Regions from separate parts of the Homo sapiens genome. Here regions 1, 3, 4, 5, 6 and 7 are each linked to region 2. Evidence: promoter capture Hi-C in 16 types of primary human blood cells and fetal thymus (Javierre and others, 2016). All regions are on one chromosome and are shown on one strand. The core of a region is centred on a gene start or on the middle of the fragment in contact, and the rest is flanking DNA. Distances in the headings are between cores, read along the strand shown. Region 1 has its middle 91 kb from the start of LINC02177. Region 2 holds the start of GRIN2A (glutamate ionotropic receptor NMDA type subunit 2A). Region 3 has its middle 160 kb from the start of LINC01195. Region 4 has its middle 110 kb from the start of HAPSTR1. Region 5 holds the start of LOC105371075 (a long non-coding RNA gene). Region 6 has its middle 130 kb from the start of LINC02177. Region 7 has its middle 110 kb from the start of LINC02177.

What was found. The method cuts DNA at HindIII sites, captures the fragments that hold promoters and counts their contacts. A CHiCAGO score of 5 or more calls a contact.
Region 1: a contact is called between a fragment that was not itself captured here and the fragment with the promoter of GRIN2A in region 2, in 5 of 17 cell types (endothelial precursors, M2 macrophages, M0 macrophages and 2 more). The highest score is 10.8, in endothelial precursors.
Region 3: a fragment that was not itself captured here is called in contact with the fragment with the promoter of GRIN2A in region 2 in 1 of 17 cell types (endothelial precursors); the score reaches 5.6 in endothelial precursors.
Region 4: a contact is called between a fragment that was not itself captured here and the fragment with the promoter of GRIN2A in region 2, in 1 of 17 cell types (endothelial precursors). The highest score is 5.5, in endothelial precursors.
Region 5: a fragment that was not itself captured here is called in contact with the fragment with the promoter of GRIN2A in region 2 in 4 of 17 cell types (endothelial precursors, M2 macrophages, erythroblasts and 1 more); the score reaches 8.7 in endothelial precursors.
Region 6: a contact is called between a fragment that was not itself captured here and the fragment with the promoter of GRIN2A in region 2, in 4 of 17 cell types (M1 macrophages, M2 macrophages, endothelial precursors and 1 more). The highest score is 11.9, in M1 macrophages.
Region 7: a contact is called between a fragment that was not itself captured here and the fragment with the promoter of GRIN2A in region 2, in 1 of 17 cell types (M0 macrophages). The highest score is 5.8, in M0 macrophages.

What each region holds. Positions count from the first base shown.
Region 1 is chr16:9,263,390-9,266,549 of GRCh38, forward strand. No RefSeq gene overlaps it. Among named protein-coding and RNA genes, the nearest start is that of LINC02177, 91 kb to the right of the region's middle. The HindIII fragment of the contact is 2,007 bases long and covers 287-2,293 here.
Region 2 is chr16:10,181,049-10,184,245 of GRCh38, forward strand. It overlaps GRIN2A (glutamate ionotropic receptor NMDA type subunit 2A), which reads right to left and starts at 1,380. Exons shown (of 13, transcript NM_001134407.3): 1 at 829-1,380. RefSeq lists silencers at 468-577, 588-647. The HindIII fragment of the contact is 14,826 bases long and covers 1-3,197 here.
Region 3 is chr16:9,617,099-9,620,103 of GRCh38, forward strand. No RefSeq gene overlaps it. Among named protein-coding and RNA genes, the nearest start is that of LINC01195, 160 kb to the left of the region's middle. The HindIII fragment of the contact is 157 bases long and covers 1,261-1,417 here.
Region 4 is chr16:9,198,605-9,201,367 of GRCh38, forward strand. No RefSeq gene overlaps it. Among named protein-coding and RNA genes, the nearest start is that of HAPSTR1, 110 kb to the left of the region's middle. The HindIII fragment of the contact is 887 bases long and covers 1,014-1,900 here.
Region 5 is chr16:9,294,308-9,297,408 of GRCh38, forward strand. It overlaps LOC105371075 (a long non-coding RNA gene), which reads left to right and starts at 505. Exons shown (of 2, transcript XR_933060.2): 1 at 505-752. The HindIII fragment of the contact is 1,373 bases long and covers 568-1,940 here.
Region 6 is chr16:9,223,725-9,226,741 of GRCh38, forward strand. No RefSeq gene overlaps it. Among named protein-coding and RNA genes, the nearest start is that of LINC02177, 130 kb to the right of the region's middle. The HindIII fragment of the contact is 156 bases long and covers 1,177-1,332 here.
Region 7 is chr16:9,243,374-9,246,403 of GRCh38, forward strand. No RefSeq gene overlaps it. Among named protein-coding and RNA genes, the nearest start is that of LINC02177, 110 kb to the right of the region's middle. The HindIII fragment of the contact is 3,560 bases long and covers 1-3,030 here.

The DNA of each region.
Region 1 (3,160 bases), core at 40-2,539, 920 kb before region 2:
AGAGATTCTAACCCTTGTTGGAGGACGCGTTCAAAGTTGTGTTAGTAAAAATTACTTTATGTAATGAACCCTTAGATCAATTCTTATTGAAATGAGCTGGAATTAGATTTTTGCTCTTCCCGTATGTAATGCTTTCAATTCAATGATGAATTACTGGAGTCAGCAGCTATCTGACATTGCGATGCCGTGCACAGCATGCTATGCCTTTCTTGTTTGCTAGCCCTTTGCGGAGGGAAAGCAGACCTATTGAAGTGCATTTTTTAATTTAGTGGGGCTGTTCGATAGAAGCTTTTTACTTTATTGAGGGAGAATTTGCCATTTTAACATTTAAATTCACTTGTTTTCACAATCTTTTTTGGGTCCTCGTGTGAATATTAATGATTATATGTACATGCAAATACATTATTTGTGTGACTTCGGGCAAGCCACATCACCTCTCTGTGTGTTTTCTGTTTTCTCATCTTTGAAAGGAGAGGGCTGGATCAGGTCTCTGTTTGCCAAAATTTTGTAGATCTGTGTTAAGAAAAAAAAATCAGAGGAATATTAGATTCAACAAAGTCAAGGTTTCTGCCTTTTCAATTCAAATTGTTTCTCTCTTTTATTTTTTCTTTTTAGGGACAGGGTCTTGGTGTGTCACTCAGGCTGGAGTGTAGTGGTGTGATCATAGCTCACTGCAGCCTCGATCTCCTGGGCTCAAGCAATCCTCCAGTCTCAGCCTTCCAAGTAGCTGGGACGACAGGCGTGCCACCACACCCAGCTACAAATTGTTTCTTTATTCTTTTCAGTGTTCCTGTCCCCAGCCTGTAAAGTAGGAGCTTAATCTAACACTTCTGCCTTCTCAAGGGATTATGGAAAAGACGCTTCAGCTCTGACCTCTTTATTCCTCATGCAAAGAAGAATGACTCATATCTCTAGAAAGATGGGGAGAAGTTATCATATCTTGGCCGTTTTTACCAGGGCTGGGGACACTTCATCCAACAGCTGACCTGGCCACCCACAGTCATTTCTCTCCACACTTGTTAGGGTGTGAGGCCAGCTGAGATCCTCTGTAGAGAAGTCTGAGGAAGCATCTGCAGTATGTATTGTAAAGTTATTTGACTATATGCAAATGTTCTTAGAATCATGTCTTCATGGAGAAGCAAATGCTTTATTATGTTGCAATGACTCTCTCTCCCTAATATATATTTTTTACTAAAAAGCCATTTTATTTGGTATTAATATGGCCACTCACCTTTATTTTGTTAGTATTTGGCTGATGTATTAGGTTGGTGAAAATGCAATTATGTTTGCACCAACCTAATATCTTTGTCTGTTCCTTTACTTGCTATATTAAAACCTTCCTATATTTTTACGTTTTAGCTTTTTTTTTTTTTTAACAGTAGATAGCTGGATTCCCTGCCCCGTCCCATCTAATTTGATAATCTCTTTTAACTGAGATGGTTATTTCCATTACATTTATTGTGATTATTGATCTATTTGGATTGTTTCTCCTGTTGTAACTTTTTTGAGGTTTCATTGGTACAGCATTTTTATATATATATATATATATATATATATATATATATATATATATATAATTTATCTTTTTTGGTCTATAAAAATTAAGTTTTTTTCTTATTACTTTTTTTTTTCTTTCCTGAGATGGAAGTTATAATCTCTGCTTTTACTCTTTAAATTATTATCTTTGAAATTTTACTAGGCACATGAGACTTTTAATGTTAGTATCTTTTACTTTTAATGTCAGTTTAACTTTTAATGCAGTATCCTTTTTTTTTTTTTTTAATTTTAGAGGCTGTCCCTCAGGCTGGAGTGCCATGGCATGATCATAGTTCACTGCAGCCTCAAACTTCAGGGCTCTAGGCAGCCTCCTACCTCGGCCTCATGAGTATTTTGGATTACAGGCATGCACCTCCACAACCGGATAATTTATTTTTTATTTTTATTTTCTGGAGACAGGGCCTCACTGTGTTGCCCAGGCTGTAATGTTGGTATCTTGACTGCCATCACCTTCCCACCATGCCTGATGATATGAAGATCTCAGACTACTTTAACCCTAGCCATTTCTTTCCTAACTGACACATTCTCATTGCTGAGGACTTCAGTTCTTTTTATTAAGCCTACTTGTTAGACAGCTATATTTTATGAATACAGTGGTTCTTTAGATTAACCTACGTGTTTTATCCTTTTTCCCCTTTGCTAATCTTCTTGAATCTCAGGCCTTCTTATTTGGGTTCATTTTCATTCTCTCTCAACTACATCCTTTAGAAATTATTTTAGTTGGCCTATTGGTTAAAGCTTTATTTTTATAAGTCTGAAAATGTCCTTATTTTGCTCTTATTCTTGAGATACAGTTTTGTTAGATCTGCTATTCTAGCTTGACAGTTCTCTTTTTCTCAACCCGATGAAGAGAGAATTTTGATGACTCTTGTCGCTACCGTTAAGAAAAGTCCAGTTGTTGATGGTCTAATTGTTACATCTGTGCTGAGGGTTGTTGCTGGTTTCTTCCATCTGCTGCTGGTTTAAGACTTCCTATTTGTCTTTGATGTTCTATAGCTTTACTACATTGTATCTAGGAATAGGCTTCTTTTTAACTTAGTCAGTTTGGTGTAAATGGTACCCTTGTATCTGTAGATTCATGTCTTTACTAGTTCTGGAAAACTCTCAGTTTTTGCCTTTTCAAATAAACTCATTTTTATTCTCTCTCTTTTATTTTCTGGGATTCAAATTAGAATATATGTTACAATATCATATTCTGCCCTTCACAGCTCTGAATGTCTTATTTGCTTATTCTTGCCTTTGTGTTGCCCTCTATCTTCCAGTTTATGAATTTCCCTTTTTAGCTGTGTATAATCTGCTTTTTTTTAAAAAGAAAAACCATACTTACTGAGTTCTAATTTCAATAATCATAGTTCTATTTTATAGATTTTCTTTGGTTTCAAGTGTATCTGATCATTTTTTGTTGCTTGCTCATTTGTGAGTTTATATTGGGCCAATCTTAATCTGTGAGAATACTGAGGACATAGATTAAAAATGCTTTCCTTTAGAGAGGATTTTGCATTTTTGCCTTGCGAGAGCCAAAGGCACTGTCTGTTTTTAGCTACCTGGATTAATAGTGTAGGGTCGGGTCCAATCCCCACATCTTGCTCTTATCCTGAGACTT
Region 2 (3,197 bases), core at 130-2,629:
GTCAGAGTACACCCCAAGTGCTTGGGAGTGAGGACGCTGCCTGGTGGGCCCAGGCTCCGCTGTGCCTGGGGAACTTGGGGCTCGCCCCACCTCGAGCCAAGGGGCCGTGGAGAGTCCTTCACCCCTACACGCGCGCGTGCACACACACGTGCACACACACACGCACACACACATGTTCACACACACACACCCTCTCTCACGCGCGCCGTGTGCAATGCTGAATTCTGGAGAGTAGGCGCGTCCCCCCGCGGGCCAGCGCGTAGGAGCTGGCAAAGAACGTGCGTAGGGGGAAAGGTAGGCTCCCAAGAAGCTCCCAGACGGACGTGGACTGTACAGCCCCTCCCTAGCCTTTCTACTGCGGGCGCTGTTGCCAAGTCCTAGGTGCACGTGGGCAGTGGGCCGCACACGCTCATAGGCACGCGCGCTTTTCTGCGCACTTCCTCAGACTGCTGTAGCGGTGCCCACGGCCAGCCGGAGTCCTCACATGTCCTCAGGTGGTGCACACGCATGAACTGCGGCAGGTGCACAGCCCTGCGTACCTGCAAATACCAGCACGGTCGTGCACGCGTGCCCTGACGCGCGCCTCTCGGGACGGACGCTGCTGGAGCCGGGGGAAGTTGAGGCGAACTCCAAGAGGCCTCGACGTTCCTGGGTAAGCGCCGCGGAGCGCGGAGCCGCAGCGCCCCCTGGTGCCCCTCCTGCACTTCGCCGCTGGGCTCCCTCCCGCTTTCCCTCTCCCTCTCTAGCCTGATCCCTCTCCCGCTCTCCCTCCGGTCGAGTCTCCCTCCTCCCCGGCCCAAGGAGCCCTGATCTCCCTCTGGGACGTACCTGTAGCCCGAGAAGGTCGAGGATGCAGTGGGGCGCGCTGCGCGCACGAGCATCTCGGCCGCCTCAGCAGCCACCGGGTTTAGCGGGTTCCCGCATGCTGCGGCCCCAGCGCGCTCCCCTGGCTGTCCCGCGCTGTCCGCATCGCCCCCACGGGGGGCGGCTATCCCAGCCGGAGGCTCTGCAGCAGGGCTCTAACGGGGCGGAGGAGAGAAGGAGAGGCAGGGTCAGCCCACCAACGAGGGGAGGGAGGGTTGAGGGGAAGGCTGCAGTCTGCAGTGCTCACAAGCCCCCCTATGCGCCCAGGGGGGCTAGACAAGAGGGGGGAAGCTGAAGCCCGATGCCCACGACGCCCCCAGTGCGGATCCTCAGCCCCTGTGGCTGATAGCGGGAGCTCCACTCCAGGGTGCACAGGAGAATGGGAGCCCCAGGTTGGCCACCCACGAGAAGCTAACTGGGCACCTCCACCCGCACCCCCTACCACCTCCCCAGCGCCGGCTGCTGGGAGTTGTGCGACCGGGAGCTGCTGAGCGAGGGAGGTAGGGAGAGAAAGAGGAGGTAACGAGGGTGGGGGGGCGCTGGCTGAGTTTGTGACGAGCCAGCAGTAGGAGAGGGGGAGGGAAGGACGCGGGCTCCCGCGGTCCCGGTTCCCCGAGGGAGGTGGATCTTTCCCACGCAGCGACCCTCTTGTGATCCTGCCGCTTCCTCCCTCTTCAGGCCTCCCACCTCCCCCCTTCCCAAGGGGGCCTCCCAGGCCCGGCGTCCCGCGCTAGCACTCACCGCAGCCTCTCTCCACATAGTTCTCAGCAGTGGCCGCTCCTGGTCATCTCCAGGGCTGATGGCTGCGGCCGCGATTCTCAGCGCTCACCCGGTCCCATGATCCGGCCAAGCCCTAGGAGCTCCCCTCCAAGATCCCTAGCTCCGCTTCCTGCCCCACTCCGGACGGCAACTGCCCGGTCCTCTGAGCGCGCCGGAGCACCCTCTCCGCAACCCAGCTCCGGGCTGGTGTGTTTGAGGGCGAGTGTGTGTGTGAGTGTGGGAGCGCGCTCGCGTGTGGCCGGGGATCCCCGCGGTCCCCGGCCGAGAGAGGCGCGGGCGGGGAAAGGCAGCTCCCTCCGGGCCCTTCGCTGCTGGGCCAGCTCCGCGCCGGGCGTTCGGCTCCCCACTTCCCAGCGGGAGTCCGGTGAGCGCCTGGACACCCTGGTTCACAGCACTGGCAAAGCCGGGTTCCCGGGGCGTCTTTCTGCTGCGGTCGCCTCCGAGGAAGAGGAGAAGGAAGGTAGCGGCGCCCTCCACACCAACTTAGGGACTTGTTCTCAGCCGGCGAGACGCAGTAGCCCCCGCTCAAGCCCAAGAGGCTTCGAGCTCCGGCGGGCGAAAGCGTCTCCTGCCCGCAGCCTCTCTCCTAGGTGGGTCGAGACAGACCCCGCAGTCCCTCGGCGGCGACGCGGAGCGCGGCCACCCGTTCCGAGAGCGCACGGCGGCAAATAAGGCCAGGATAGGTGGCTGGCTGGCGACGGGGGCGCCTGCGGCGGCGCGCGCTGCTGTCCGTGGTGTTGGAACCACGCTCTCCGCCCGCTCCCGGGCGTCTGGTGCGGCTGAAGAATCAATTATTCAGATCTCTGCTACCGCTTCCTCCTCCCCCAGTGCCTCGCGCTGGGTACAGTTATCCCCCTCCACGCACAGGCGCGCCGACACACACACACACACACACACACACACACACACACACACAGAGTCTGCTCCAATGCTTCTCCCTGTGCCTCGCCACCCCCGTACGGGAACCCACTCCTCTGATCTCAGGGAGCCAGAATCCTAAAAGCAAAGACATCTGCATTTCCCACATGCTTCCTTCTAAGTTCTACCAAACAGAAGCCTCCCTGAGGCTGCCACTTCTAAGCTACCAGAAGAGGTGAGCCAGAGAACATGGGACGGCCCGGGTGTGTGAGGGCTTGGTTGACTTGAATTCTAGCGACTGGGCATGAAATACATGGTCAAGGGAGGAGCTCTGCCCCTTTTATATTCACCTGTATCTCCAACGCCTGTCTGCCTTTCAGGCCTTGGAAGGAAAGGGGTCTTAAATTCTAAGAGGTTTTGCAATGACTGTTCCAACCCTGCCTCCTCCACTTAACCTAATGTCACCTGCTGCGGTCTAAATGTGTGTGTTCCCACCCCCAAATTCATAGGATAAAATCCTAACTCCCAAGGTGATGGTATTAGGAGGTGGGGACTTTAGGAGGTGACTTCATGGCTTCATGAGAGTAAAATGGGATTTGTGGTCTTATAAAAGAGATGCCAGAGAGTCAGCTAGGTCCTTCCACCAAGTGAGACTTAATCAAGAAGGCATCGGCCTATGAACAGGAACTAGGCCC
Region 3 (3,005 bases), core at 89-2,588, 560 kb before region 2:
AGAATAGAACTATTTCCCAAGGAAAACCAACATTAAGGGCTAGGGAGATGAATCAGAAAGTCAGCGGAGCTTTGGAAAGGATATTAAAATGATGGGCACCTACAGGGTCCTGAAAGCCTTGAGAAGAGAAGATGTCAAAGAAGGAATGAGTGATTGAGTATAATTGCCCTAAGAAGTTAAGTACAATAGAGATTGAAAAGTTGTATTAGATTTTCTTTTTATTGTGGTAAAATACACATAGCAAGACATTTATCATTTTAGCCATTTTAAAGAGTACAATTCAGTGGCATTAAGTATATTCATGATGTTGTGCAACCCTCACCACTATCGTGTTCCAGAACATTTTTATCACCCTAAGCAGAATTCTGTACCCATTAAGCAGTTACTCCTAATTCTCCTCTCTCCCTAGGCCCTTCCAACCACTCATCTGCTTTCTGTCTCTACAAATTCACCTATTCTGGAAAATTCATATGAATGAAATTATGCAATATGTGGTTTTCCATTATATTTCATAACAAGGAAAATTAAATCTAATTCTAAATAACTTGACTCATTACTATATTTGTGAAGTCAAGAACTTCCATTGGGGAAGGCAATGTGATATCCTGGGCTAGTCTCAGAGGAACTATTTTGACCCAAGCTTGTATTGATCATGGAAATAACAAGGAGGCTGTCAGTGGGGAATGTTAACAAATCTCAAGTTTAGTTACAGATAGCAAAAAAAAAAAAAAAAAAAAAAAAAGAGAGAGAGAGAGAGACAGAGAGAGACAATTTATAACTTTCTCTCAGACTCCATCTTCCCTAGGGGATTAGCAGCTGACTTAAGGCAGAAGCATTTAACTGCCCAAGTATCTCAGTACACCTTCTTTTTGTTCCTCCCATTCATGGAGCTAATTGCTTCAGGACATCTTCATATGGGTCCTTCTTGTCTCTAACCTCTTATTTCTCTGCAGGAATCTAGAATCCCCTCAGGTTGAAAAAGCTAGAAAATGTAAGATCTTTAAAGTCAGCGATGCAGGTGTTGGACCAGGAAAGAAGAAAAATTGAGTGACCCATGGAGATTCTGAGCACCAAACAAATGTATCCTAAAACAGTGTTTCTTAAGCTATCTTTGGAAAAGGAGCATTTTCCTCTAATACTTCACAGACCAATACTTGCAAAAAAATTTACAAAACAGTGAATTACTAGAAAAATGAAATCAAGACAAGTCCTTTTTTTAGATTTATTAGACTCAAAATTATTTTGCGAAATTGCCATAAAAGCTTTTAAGCACTGGCTCTCAATTTCTGCGGTCACCTCATTGTGGTGCAATATTTTATGTTTAATGTCTTAATGACTTCAACATTCTAGGACTGTATGAAATACAGTTATCCAAGCCTACCTTCTTGATATAACCTGGATTTCCATGATCAGTACAAGCTTGGGTCAAAATAGTTCCTCTGAGACTAGCCCAAGACATCACATTGCTTTCCCGGATGGAAGTTCTTGACTTCACAAATATAGTAACAAGCCAAGTTATTTAGAATTAGATTTAATTTTCTCTGTTTAAGGTCACAACAGGACCAGAAGAGTTTTTCTGGGGGGAGGATCCCTGAACTATAGAAAATGACGGAATTTCACAGAAGTAATGGAGCAGAAGCCAGATTATCAGAAGTAGGTGAGTGAACAGGTGTGGGAAATTACAGACCCTGAGATTGCTACAGGCTACCATCGGGCAATAAGAGAAGAGACAAATGAGATGTTCAGGGAATTTGACATTTTATTTTTGTTTGCTTACTTGTTTTGTTTATTTTGGTATTCCTGTTTTAAGATGGGAGAGACTTGAACCTTGCTTTTAAAATGATACAATGGACCAAAAAAGAGAGAGAGAGAGAAGCTTAAGGGAAAGAAGAAAGGGTTACTAGTGGATGCAGGTGGGAGATAATGAGATTCTGAGCATAGGGATGTGTGTTAGTCCATTTTCACACTGCTGTAAAGAACTACCTGAGACTGGGTAATTTATGAAGAAAAGAGGCTTAATTGACTCACAGTTCTGCAGGCTTAACAGAAAACATGACTGGGAGGCCTCAGGAAACTTACAACCATGGGAGGCAAAGGGGAACAAGGACCTTCTTCACATGGTGGAAGGAGAAAGAGACAGGGGAAGTGCCACACTTTTAAACCATCAAATGTCGTGAGAACTCACTCACTATCATGAGAACAGCAAGGGGAAAATCTGCCCCTCCCATCACCTCCCTCCAAGCCCCTCCGCCAATTTGACATGAGATTTGACGTGAGATTTGGGTAGGGACACAAATCCAAACCATATCATATATTGGAAGATAGATAAGACAGGAGGAGGAAAGGATGCAGAAGTGCACCAGTCGGGGATCAGTCGGGAGCTAGGCACTTTATGTTGGAACCTGAAGTTCATAGCAGAAGAAATAAGAAAGGGAAGATGGGTGTAAAGTAGAGGAAATAAAAAACAAGCTGGAACCCAAAGCTGTGAGTGGAGCCACACTCCAGACGGAGGACAGATGGAGACTTGCATTAGGGTTTTTGTTTTTTGTTTGTTTGTTTTGGTCCCTGATATTAATGATATGAGTGTCCTGCAAAAGCCAGGGGCCCTTAGGCAAACATAGGCACCTGACCCAAGAGCCAAAGGCAATGAAAGAGGATTCAGGGGAAGGAACTGTTGCAAGTCCAGCTGCTGCCACTTGCCAGGACAAGTCAACAGATCAACAACATGTGTGAGCCGCATGACGGCCCATGCTCCAGCTCTTCCTTCAGGTCTCTCCTGAGGCCCAACTGGGAGCAGCCAGGGAAGGGGATTCTAGGAAATTCAGTTCCACTTAGCTTAATTATGAAGCCACCAGAGTGTGAATGCCGGTCAGTTTTAGAAAAAAAAACTTGAGGTTTTTCTCACCTGCTTCTAATTTCTCTTTAGGGGATAAGGTAATGTGCTGGGAGTGAGGAGGCTATGGGTGGTGATGGTGATGTCACTAGTGGTTGAAATAGCAATAGTG
Region 4 (2,763 bases), core at 207-2,706, 980 kb before region 2:
CCTTCCTTCCTTCCTTCCTTCCTTCCTTCCTTCCTTTTTTTTTTTTGAGATGGGGTCTTGCTCTGTCACCCAGGCTGGAGTGCAGTGGCACAATCTTGGCTTACTACAACCTCCACCTCCCCGGTTCAAGTGATTCTCCTGCCTCAGCCTCCCAAGTAGCTGGGATTACAGGTGCCTACTACCACGCCCAGCTAATTTTTGTATTTTTAGTAGAGACTGGGTTTCACTGTGTTGGCCAGGCTGGTCTCGAACTCCTGACCTCAGGTGATCCACCTGCCTCGGCCTCCCAAAGTGCTGGGATTACAGGTGTGAGCTACCGTGCCCGGCCGGGATCCACAGTTTCTTGGGACAGCAAACCCTTGCCACCCAGAGGAAGTGGAAAGCTGGGGCTAAAACCGCTTGCCCCCCGACCACCTCCCTGGCCTTGCTCCACCAACCCCAGAGCACCTGAAGACACCTCCAGCAGACCACGAGGCCTCTTCTGCCAGGAGCACATCTGCCTGCTGGAACTCTCCTCACAATTCTATTTTTGCTCCCCTTGGCAGCTCTGTGGAAATTAAAAGGCTATTGGCAGTGACTAATGTTGCTAATTCTGATCAAACAATTTAAAATTCATCCTTTGCCATATCAGAGACCCGCTAGGGAACAGAATTAAGACATCATTTGTGGCAATTTCTGTGACAGTTGGTGGAAAACAGAAAAGACATTAAAATTGGTCTCAATTCAAACCACTGCTCATTAAATTGCCTCCTTGAAAATCCGCCATCTCGATCTATACACTAGCTCTCCGTCTGTTCCCAGCTTATTAACCCAGAGCAAGGACCTTGACAAGCCAGCAGCTGGATCCAAGATGCTGGGAACTTCCTGGGATGTCTGGGAGAGCACATCCTGACACCCTCTGCTCCCTCCCACCGGCGCCGCCTTTGAGCCTTCCTGCCTCTGCCCCAGGAGCGGATGTGCCTCACATTTCCAAGAGTTAAACTTCAGGAAGCCAAATATTAAAAAAAGAATCAAGCTTCCCAGTGTTACCCAAACTTGAGTCATTCGCTTACCACCTGTGTGATTTCTGCTGTATCTATATCCATGTTCTGTTTTTTTACTTGATATAAAGCCAACTCATTTTAAAATTAAATTAATAGACTATTTTAAACAGGAAACTTTGTCACTACTATAAATGGAAACCCAATGTCATAAAGAGGAAATAAATGCTAACGCTAAGCATAAAAATCAATACAGTGTTTTTAAAAAAGCGTTGGATGGTTTACATCCCTTAGGTTTTTTTCTACATAAGTCCTTCCTTCCTTCCTTCCTTCCTTCCTTCCTTCCTTCCTTCCTTCCTTCCCTCCCTCCCTCCTTCCTTCATTTTCCTTCCTTCTCTCCTTCCTTCCCTCCCTCCCTTTCCCTTCCCTTCCCCTTCCCCTTCTCCTTCCTTCCTTCCTCCTTCTTCCTTCTTTTCCTCTTTCTTTCCTTTCTTCCAATTGTAAAATATATGTAAAAATGGGCAAACATTCTGGGCATGATGGCTCATACTTTTAATCCCAGCACTTTGGAGGCCGAGGCGGGTGGATCATGAGGTCAGGTATTTGGGACCAGCCTGGCCAACATAGTGAAACCCTGTCTCTACTAAAAAAATACAAAAAATTAGCTGGTTGTGGTGGCGGGCACCTGTAATCCCAGCTACTAGGGAGGCTGAGGCAGGAGAATAGTTTGAACCTGGGAAGCGGAGGTTGCAGTGAGCTGAGATCGCACCACTGCATTCCAGCCTGGGAGAGAGTGTGAGACTCCGTCTCAAAAAAAAAAGGCAAACAACTAGAATGGAATTAAAGACAGATTTGCAAACCTTTCAACCATTATATAAATATTAAAAAGTTAAAAAATGAATTGCCAATTGAAAAATAAAAGCTTACATGTAAAAACAGCAAAGTGAAGACAGTGACAAAGGAGACAATGGTATTCCATTCCACTTGGGTACATTTGCTGGGGAAGACTCTTAGCCAGAGGCAAGGGCTCTGTAAGTTAAAAAGGATTAGGAAGGGTTCCAGTTCTTAAAGACAAACTCATCCAGGGAGACTTTCTCTTTGCATTAATTGGGAGGGTTGAAAACCAATAGACAGAGAGTGACCGTTTGACTGTGTGATGAGATGTTTTGCAATGCTGTGTTCAACTCGAATAATTTTATATGCCACGAGCACATTTTCTACACTTTGGAAAATACTGGTGTGATCTGGGAAGACAAACTCTTAGGAATCTTCTCCCTTCCCAACACCCCCTCCCTGTTTTACTGGAGTAAAACAAATCCCTGGAGTAAAATCCCTGTTTCCTCCAGGGATTTGACAATTATCTTAAAGCTGTATCAGTTTGAATGATCCACTATCTGCAGGTAGACCTTCCCCTCTTATTTGAATTCCTCTGCCTATTTAGGAAGTTCTCCCTAGGAATACTATGACTTTCTTTCCTTTCCTTTAAACACAATTTTAAAAAAATGTACAAATAGCCTGGGTGCCGTGGCTCCCACCTGTAATCTCAGCACTTCGGGAGGCTGAGGAGGGTGGATCACCTGAGGTCAGGACTTTGAGACCAGCCTGGCCAACATGGTAAAACCTCGTCTCTATTAAAAATACAAAAATTAGTCACATGTGGTGGCAGGTGCCTGTAATCCTAGCTACTCGGTGGGCCAAGGCAGGAGAATCGCCTGAACCTGGGAGGTGGGGGTTGTAGTAAGCTGAGATCGCGCCAGTGCACTCCAACCTGGGTGACAGAGTG
Region 5 (3,101 bases), core at 4-2,503, 890 kb before region 2:
AAAGGATCAACAAAATTGATAGACCGCTAGCAAGACTAATAAAGAAAAAAAGAGAGAAGAATCAAATAGATGCAGTAAAAAATGATAAAGGGGATATCAGCACCGATCCCACAGAAATACAAACTACCATCAGAGAATACTACAAACACCTCTACGCAAATAAACTAGAAAATCTAGAAGAAATGGATGAATTCCTTGACACATACACTCTCCCAAGACTAAACCAGGAAGAAGTTGAATCTCTGAATAGACCAATAACAGGAGCTGAAATTGTGGCAATAATCAATAGCTTACCAACCAAAAAGAGTCCAGGACCAGATGGATTCACAGCCGAATTCTACCAGAGGTACAAGGAGGAACTGGTACCATTCCTTCTGAAACTATTCCAATCAATAGAAAAAGAGGGAATCTTCCCTAACTCATTTTATGAGGCCAGCATCATTCTGATACCAAAGCCGGGCAGAGACACAACCAAAAAAGAGAATTTTAGACCAATATCCTTGATGAACATTGATGCAAAAATCCTCAATAAAATACTGGCAAACCGAATTCAGCAGCACATCAAAAAGCTTATCCACCTGACACCTGTCTTATTGCCCGCTTCTTGCCTGTGCAGTCTTGTGTACCATCAACATCTGGTTTGTTCCACTTTACAAATGCACACAGCAGTGAAGGCTGCTACTGGCACTGGGATTCTTTGCATCCACCTCAATAGCTGAAGCCTCCTTGGGGCCCTTGGGTGATGTAACAAGGTAAGAATTCCATCTGGTTTGCAGAATCTTAGGAAACTTACTGTCCTCTCAATGCCACCCAGTAGCACCAGGGGGATAGGCAATGCCTTCTGCTGATTGAGACATCTTTCTTAAATCTCTCCCAACACCTAACCAACCAACCATCATCACAAATGATGGAGGATTAGCAGAAAGGAGAGGGTTGGGCATGATGGCGCATACCTGTAACCAAGAAATTTGCCAGGCTGAGGTGGAAGGATCGCTTGAGGCTAGGAGTTTGAGACCAGCCTGGGCAACATGGTGAGACATTGTCTCTACAATAAATAAATAAATAAATTTTTTTTTTGAGACAGAGTCTCACTCTGTTGCCCAGGCTGGAGTGCAGTGGTGCATTCTCGGCTCACTGCATCCTCTGTCTCTTGGGTTCAAGAGATTCTCCTGCCTCAGCCTCCTGAGTAGCTGGGATTACATGCGTGTGCCACCATACCCAGCTGACTTTTCTAGTTTTAGTAGAAACGGGGTCTCACCATGTTGGCCAGGCTGGTGTCGAACTCCTGACCTCTAATGATCCACCCGCCTCAGCCTCCCAAAGTGCTGGGATTACAGGTGTGAGCCACTGTGCCTGGTCTACAGGAAATAATTAAAAAAAAATTAACTAGGTATGGTGGCATGTGTCTGTAGTCCTAGCTACTCAGGAGAATCACTTGAGCCTGGAAGTTTGAAGCTGCAAGTGAGCTATGATTGTGTTACTGCACTGCAGTCTGGGTGACAGAGCCAGATCCTGTCTCTAAAAAAAAATAATAAAAAATAAATAAAAAAAAAAATGAGGGGAAAAGCAAATATCCAGATGATTCCCTCCACCCCCAAAACAAACTGATTTGTCCTTAAGAATCTTATTTTATTTTTAAACACTTTGGGATTTTAAAAATAGAATTCCCCTGATGATTCTCTCACTTAAAGACTTGCATTTAGATCAAGTAACTTCAAGTGTCCAGGCACCAGAAATACTGCTCAGAACCATATATTTCCCCTCCAACATGCAGCATAGGTGTCAGTCTCATAAATAGGGGGAATGCCAGATGTGCCCAAGTATGGACTTAGCCAGTACAAAAGCGCAAATATATCGGACACGCAGACTTAGACAGGTTTGCTACATAACCAGAGAGATCACTGGATTTACTCAGTTCCAAATGAGCAGCTCCCCTTTTAAGCTTCTTCAAGCTTGGCATCTGTGGGACTTTGTAAATCCCCAGCAGAGCTCAGGGGAAGTGGTCCTGAATTGTTTAACAGCCACAGCAATTACTTTGTTTTATACACGACATTCTTACCTCATCCATCTGGGAGGACAACAGGTGGAGCAACTAAAAAAAAAATTGTGTGAGTGCTTGAGTGGCTCCAAGTTGAATATTAAACAGAAACCCTCAGTGCCCCACGATTCTGGAGATTGGTGTGCATTTGTGATATACAACAGAAGTCAAATCAATATTCAACCAGAGAAACAAATCAGGAGTGAACAGTTTCATACTTAGTCAAGTGTGCTGAGCTCTCCAAGGATGTAGAAAAGAAAGATTTCCTCGGTCCTCTGTGCATGCCCCAAAGGACATCTAAAATCTTCCCAAGGTTAACACCAGAATAAAAGAGACCTTTGGCAATTGTGATATTGTGAGAATTTCCATTCGATAAAGATAATGGAATTTTTAAAGTACTTCTTGGTTGCTATTAGGTCCATGCTGGGAAAATGATGGAAAAAATCCAGTAAAAATATTTTTTTAATATTAGTGGGAAATAATATAGAGAAAAAGAAAATCCCCCGCTAATGAGGAACAATCTAATTTCTGGAAATGGCCACTGTGTTGGATAGATTTTCTGTAATTTCGATTATTGGTATGATTGATTAATCTTGGGATGGCCAACAAGAATGTAAAGAGTTGTCTGGTCACAGATTCTTTTTTTTTTTTTTTTTAATTTTATTGTACTTTAAGTTCTGGGATACATGTGCACAATGTGCAGGTTTGTTACATAGGTATACACATGCCATGGTGGTTTGCTGCACCCATCAACCCGTCATCTACATTAGGTATTTCTCCTAATGCTATCCCTCCCCTAGCCCCCCACCCCCCGACAGGCCCTGGTGTGTGATGTTCCCCTCCCTGTGCCCATGTGTTCTCATTGTCTGGTCACAGATTCTAGGGAATGGGAGATTGAGAGTACATCAGTTTATGCCTTTTTCAGCATCTCGTCTTATCTCACTTTGTAAATTCTATGAGCTGAAGGAAAGGTCATGTGTCTCTTCTTTTAGGACACAGTCCAGTCCAGGTATCTGAGTGGTCACCCCATGTCTGTGTGTCTCCTGAAATGGCGATGTCTTGT
Region 6 (3,017 bases), core at 5-2,504, 960 kb before region 2:
TGTCTGGCTTCTCTATCCTATAGACTCTCTGTGCACCTCCCCCATCCACTCTATGATAGGCCATAATCCCTGCTAATTGTAAGTGCTCCTTAACCTGCCTGTCTTGCCCTCTGGGCTATAGGCTCCTACAGGGCACTGGCTGTGTCTTATTTAGCTCCATGCAGCAGAAGGTGAAATCAGAATGATTCTAAGCATGAGAAGGATTTGATGTGTTGGCCCTGAGATGGAGAGGCTCATAGGCAAGGACTTGAGAAAGTACCCTAGGAGATACAGACTGCAAGGATATGGGAACCTCAGTCCTACAACCAAAGGAACTGAATTATAAAAAAAAGAAGGGGAAAACTGTGGGATATAATGAGGTTTCTCTTCAAAGAGTCTGGTCAATCCTTTATTCTTTAATTCTAGTACCGCCCCCCGCCCTTTCCCTTTTCTCCTCTTTCTTCGTTTCTGCCTTTGTTATGTGCCCAGACATGCTACAGTACCAGGTGTTATCAATACCAACTCACATTCCTTTCCTTATTTGAAAAAAAGACTAGCTCTCTAGCTCATTACAGACACCCCTTCCCCTTTCCCCTCTCTCTTACGTGCCCATCTTATCTAAAGAAAGTTCAAATGTTTAGCCAACCAGAACTAGTTTAGATTGTGCGGCCCGACTCCAGCCAATGGGGAAAGGGCACACAGGCAGGACTTGCGTCAGGAATAATGGCTCTCGTTCCCCTTTGTTCAGTTGTGCTCTCATGGTGACTGGCCAAGGTGAAGCACCCATCTAAACAAAAGTAAAATTACTTTACTGAAAATCCTTTGAGTGTTCAATTTCCTTAGGATTTTGAACATTATTTCCATCACATGCTAGAATACATGCCAACTAGAATGCAATGTTCTTGTCAGACTTCCTGGGTTTAAATCTCAGTTCTACCGGTTACTAGCTCTGTAACTCAAGGCAAGTGCCTTATCCTCAGTAAGCCTCAGCTTCCTCATCTGTAAAATGGGAATAATTTTAGTACCTACCATATGGGGTTGTTGAGGGCTTGAAATGAGTGTGCATGTAAAGTACTTATAAGAGTACCTGGCACATAGTAAATGCTCAATAAATGAATGCTAGTTGTGATTGCTGCTGTCATTATTCTTTAATTACTATTACTTCTACTTGGCATCAAGTATTGTTGAAAATCCCCAAGCTTGGAAAAGTTTGTCTGTTTGGTTTTTTTTACTTGTTTGTATTCCGCCCGCCCCCAAACAGGCAAATGCCACACCTAGCATTGTTAAAATAACTTTAAAGAAACAAATCATAGTTAGGTTCTGCAATCTTGTCCCTCGCTGATGCCAAATGAAAGCTTCAGAGAAGATAAAAGGATTGCCTCTTTTGAAGCAGGGCTATTACTTCTATCCTTTAAAGTGATGAAATTATAAATGATCAAAGGAGAATGGATGGCAATGGAGGAAGGTTTCATTCACGTATCATTGTTCTGCAGGCACTGAGGGCCTGGGGAAGGGACAGCCACACTTTCACATGCTGAGATGGAGGAAATTGTGAGTAGGACAAATGAACTAATGGGTGGAAATCAGTTTGCATACTGTCTGGCACAAAGCAAACGCCTAGTAAACGTTAGCTATTACACAGCATGCAGAATAGAGCAGTCCCTGCCTGGGGTAACTGTGTCGAATATCTGTCGTGTGCTAAATGTTAGTCTTCCGAAAAGATATGTCCACCCAGAACCAGTGGATGGGACTTTATTTGGAGAAAGGGGCTTTACAGATGTAGTTAGATTAGGAATCTCAAGATGAGATCATCCTGGATTATCTGGGTAGGCCCTAAATCCAATGACTAGTGTCCTTATAAAAAGTTTAGAAGATGCAGAGGAGAACACCAGGTGATGATGGGGTGATGATAGATGCAGGGATCAGAGTGCGGGGCCTACATGTCAAGGAGCACCCAGGACTGTGGCAATCCCCAGAAGCTGCAGAGAGGCGAGAGACACATGCTCCCCCTAGAGCTTGCAGAAGGAACCAACCCTGGGAACACATTGATTTCTGGCTTCTGGCGTCCAGAACTGTGAGAGAATACTTTTTTTCCTCCCTTCCTTCCTTCCTTCCGTCCTTCCTTCCTTCTTCTTTCCTTCCTTCCTTTCTCTTTCTTTCCTTCCTTCCTTCTCTCTTTCCTTTCCTTTCCTTTTCATTTCTTTTTCTCTTTCTTTCTTTTCTCTCTCCTTGCCCCCTTCCTTGCCTGCTTTCTTTCTTTTCTTTTTCTTTCTTCTTTATTTCCCTTTCTTTCTTTTCTTTCTTTCTTTTCTTTTCTCTTTCTTTCTTTTTTCTTTCTTTCTTTTCCTTCCTTCCCTCCTTCCTTCCTTCCTTCCCTCCCTCCCTTCCCTTCCTTCCCTCTCCCTTCCTTTCCGTTTTCCTTCCTTCCTTCCTTCCCTTCCCTTCTCCTTCCTTCCTTCCCTTCCCTTCTCCTTCCTTCCTTCCCTTCCCTTCTCCTTCCTTCTTTCCTTCCTTCCTTCCTTCCTTCCTTCCTTCCCTCCTTCCCTCCCTTCCCTTCCTTCCTTCCCTCCCTTCCCTTCCTTCCTTCCCTCCCTTCCCTTTTCCTTCCTTCCCTCCCCTCCCCTCCCTTCCCTTCCTTTCTTCCTGACAGGGTCTGGCTCTGTTGTCCAGGCTGGAGTACAGTGGTGTCTTCACAGCTTACTGCAGCCTCTCCCTCCCAGGCTCAAGCAATCCTCCCACCTCATCCTTCCCAGGAGCTGGGACTATAGGCGCACACCACCACACCTGGGTAATTTTTTTTTTTTTTGGTAGAGACAGGGTCTCTCCATGTCATCTGGGCTGATCTCAATATCCTGGGCTTCAGTGATTGGGTCTCAAGTGGTTGGCCCACCTTGGCATCCCAAAGTGCTGGGATTACAGGTATAAGCCGCTGAGCCTGGCCGAGAGAATAAATTTCTGTTGGTTTGTTGTAAGCCACCAGTTTCTGGAAATTTGTGACAGGAGCTACAGAAAATGAATATCACATCCCACTTAGATGT
Region 7 (3,030 bases), core at 18-2,517, 940 kb before region 2:
ATTTAAGGCAGCTTCAACCTTAGGTTTGTCTCTAATAGGAAAGAAAATAATCCGGTATTGTGGCATTTCATGGAGGTCACTTTATCAGACAGCAGCTGTGCTGGCCTTTCTGCTCCGAATTCTCCTTTCTTTGCTAACTGTACATCCATTTCCTGTAGGGGAATCATCCTCTGCCTCTTTTAATTCTTGTGACTCACGTGGGGCAGAACCAGGCTTCAGGCGAGGGCATGCACCTGTCAATTCCTACTTCTGGTAATTCAATTAACAGTCACCTTCATGTACCACTACTACTGTGTGCTAGTCACTATTGCAATCACTTTATAGATGCATTTTTTTCCTTTTTGAGGTGGAGTTTTGCTCTTGTTGTCCAGGCTGGAGTGTAATGACATGATCTTGGTTCATTGCAACCTCTGCCTCCTGGGTTCAAGCGATTCTCTGGCCTCAGCCTCCTGAGTAGCTGGGACTACAGGCACACATCACCACGCCCAGCTAATTTTTGTATTTTTAGTAGAGATGGGGTTTCATGATGTTGGTCAGGCTGGTCTCGAACTCCTGACCTCAGGTGATCCGCCTGCGTCGGCCTCCCAAAGTGCTGGGGTTACAGGAGTGAGCCACCGCGCCCGGCCCATAAATGCATATTAATCCGTTTAATCCTCATCCCAATCCTTTGAGGGAAATCTAATTCTTACATCTATTTTATAGATGGAACAATGGAGGAAGGGTTAAGGTTACTGTCCAGAGTCACCAGCAGGTGAGTGATGGAGCAGGGATTTGAAGTCACATAGTATTGTGGCAAGCCAGGTCTCCCTAACAGCTGAACTGGTAGGCCTCCATAACAACTGTTTCAGCACTGACTGAGTGGTGAAGTTAAATATTAAGAGCTGAGAGGGCCAGTGCCCTTATACAAAGGCTGGAATGTAACAAAAGCCCCCCAAGAGTTTTGCCTAGGCCTTTCCTGGGCCTTGAAACATGACAAGATAACGAAGGAATTCTTAACAGGACCCATTTGGGATTAAACAAGTTTATTGGGAGGTCTGAAGAAACTCCCCAGGCTTCGACAAACAAGTTTATTGGGGTTCTGAAGGGACTCCCCAAACCTTCATGATTTAGCAGAAGACAAGATAAGGGTAATCTCCCCAGCACCTGGACCCATTTAGATTAAGTAAATTTAATGAGACTCCAGAGGAAGTTCTTCAGGACTTAGCTCTTAGTTACAGATGAGAAGTTAATCACTTATGTCTTCAGATGAATGCACGCTTACACGTAGACATATAGCTTAGAAGGTATATGAGCTCTGGAAAACTTTGTAATTTTGAGTTGGTCTGGTGTTATTTTCCAGGCCTTCTCCCTGTACCTGGTTACAGAAATAAAAACTGTCTTCCTCCCCAGTTCATCTGTATCTGGTTATTGGGCGGTGAGAGTAAGCAGCCTGACCCTCGGTTTGGTCCAGGAACAGTATGGCCTTTGTTGGGTTGCATCTCAGTTAGTTCTGGCAAGAGAGAAGAGAGCTAAACCAGGCCCACAATTCTTAATTCCAAGTCTTTAAACTCTCAGGGAGGATTTCTCTTTCCAGAGAAACTGCTGGCAGTTCCAGTGATGAAAGCTGCAGGCTTCCAAGGCCACAATGAGGAGCTTGGGATGGTTATCATCCAGAGGAGGGATGGCAACAGAAATCAAACTCTCATGATGCTCTTGGCACCTCTGTTCTCAGCTCAGGTGTTAAGATCTGCCGCTGGGCCTCCCACACATGGGAGTGGAAAAGTGCCCTTTGTTACCCAAGGGAGCTTGAGTTGGGTTTTCCATTCTTTGCATCTAGAAGAAATGCATGTTGGTTTTTGACCTTGATGACTTTTCACGGAAGGACTTGAGAAAGAGCTCCTTTTGGCATTCTGGAAAAAAGTGATGCTCCTGGACTCTCTGATACCATGTTTCTGAGGGCACTGTAGTTGGTGCATGAAAGAGTGTGGATGTTGGAGGCAGACAGTTATGGGTTTGATTTTCAGTTAGGTGACCCTGGGCGAGTCACTTAAGCTCTCTGAATCCTGGAGAAATGGCAAAACTGTCTTTATGGATGGTGGGTGAGGATTTGATAACACATACAAAAGCTCCTTGAGCATAGTAGGGGCGTCATTCTTGAATTCCTCCATGGTCTCCATCCCCAGGGGCTCTGTCTGCTTTATTTGCTGTATTAACTGAAGTTCTACAGAGAAACAGAACCAGTAGTGGGGTGTATGTGTGTGTGTGTGTGTGCGTGCACACGTGTGTATTTTAAGGCATTGGCTCATATGATTGTAGGGGTTGGAAAGTCTGAAGTCTGTAAGGCAGGCTGACAGGCTAGAAGTTCAGGTAAGAGTTGATGTTGCAGTCTTGAATCTGAAATTCATGGCACAAGTCAGGCGGGCTGGAAATGCAGGCAGTTTATCTATGTTGCTCCTTCCTCCTCTCCTTCTCCTTCTCTTTTCCTTTCCTCTTTTCTTTTCTTTTGAGATGGAGTTTTGCCCTGTCACCCAGGCTGGAGTTCAGTGGCATGATCTCAGTTCACTGCAACCTCTGCCTCCTGGATTAGAGTGATTCTCCTGCCTCACCCTTCTGAGTAGCTTGGATTAGAGGTGCCCCCCACCACGCCCAGCTAATTTTTGTATTTTTTGTAGAGACGGGGTTTTGTCATGTTGCCCAGGCTGGTCTTGAACTCCTGGCCTCAAGTGATGCACCCGCTTTGGCCTCCCAAAGTGCTGGGATTAGAGGCATGAGCCAGCGTGCCCGGCCCTGTGTTGCAGTGTTTATTTTTCTTGGGGAAACTTCAGTTTTGCTTTTTTTTTTTTTTTTTTTGTAGAGACTGGGTCTCACTATGTTGCCCAGGCTGGTCTTGAACTCCTGGCCTCAAGCCATTCTCTTGTTTAGGCCATCCAAAGTGGTTGGATTACAGGCATGAGCCACCGTGCCCAGCCCAATTTTTGCTCTTAAGGCCTTCAGACAATTCGATGAGTTCCATTCAGTTATGAAGGGTAAAATTGGCTGGTTGTGGATCTT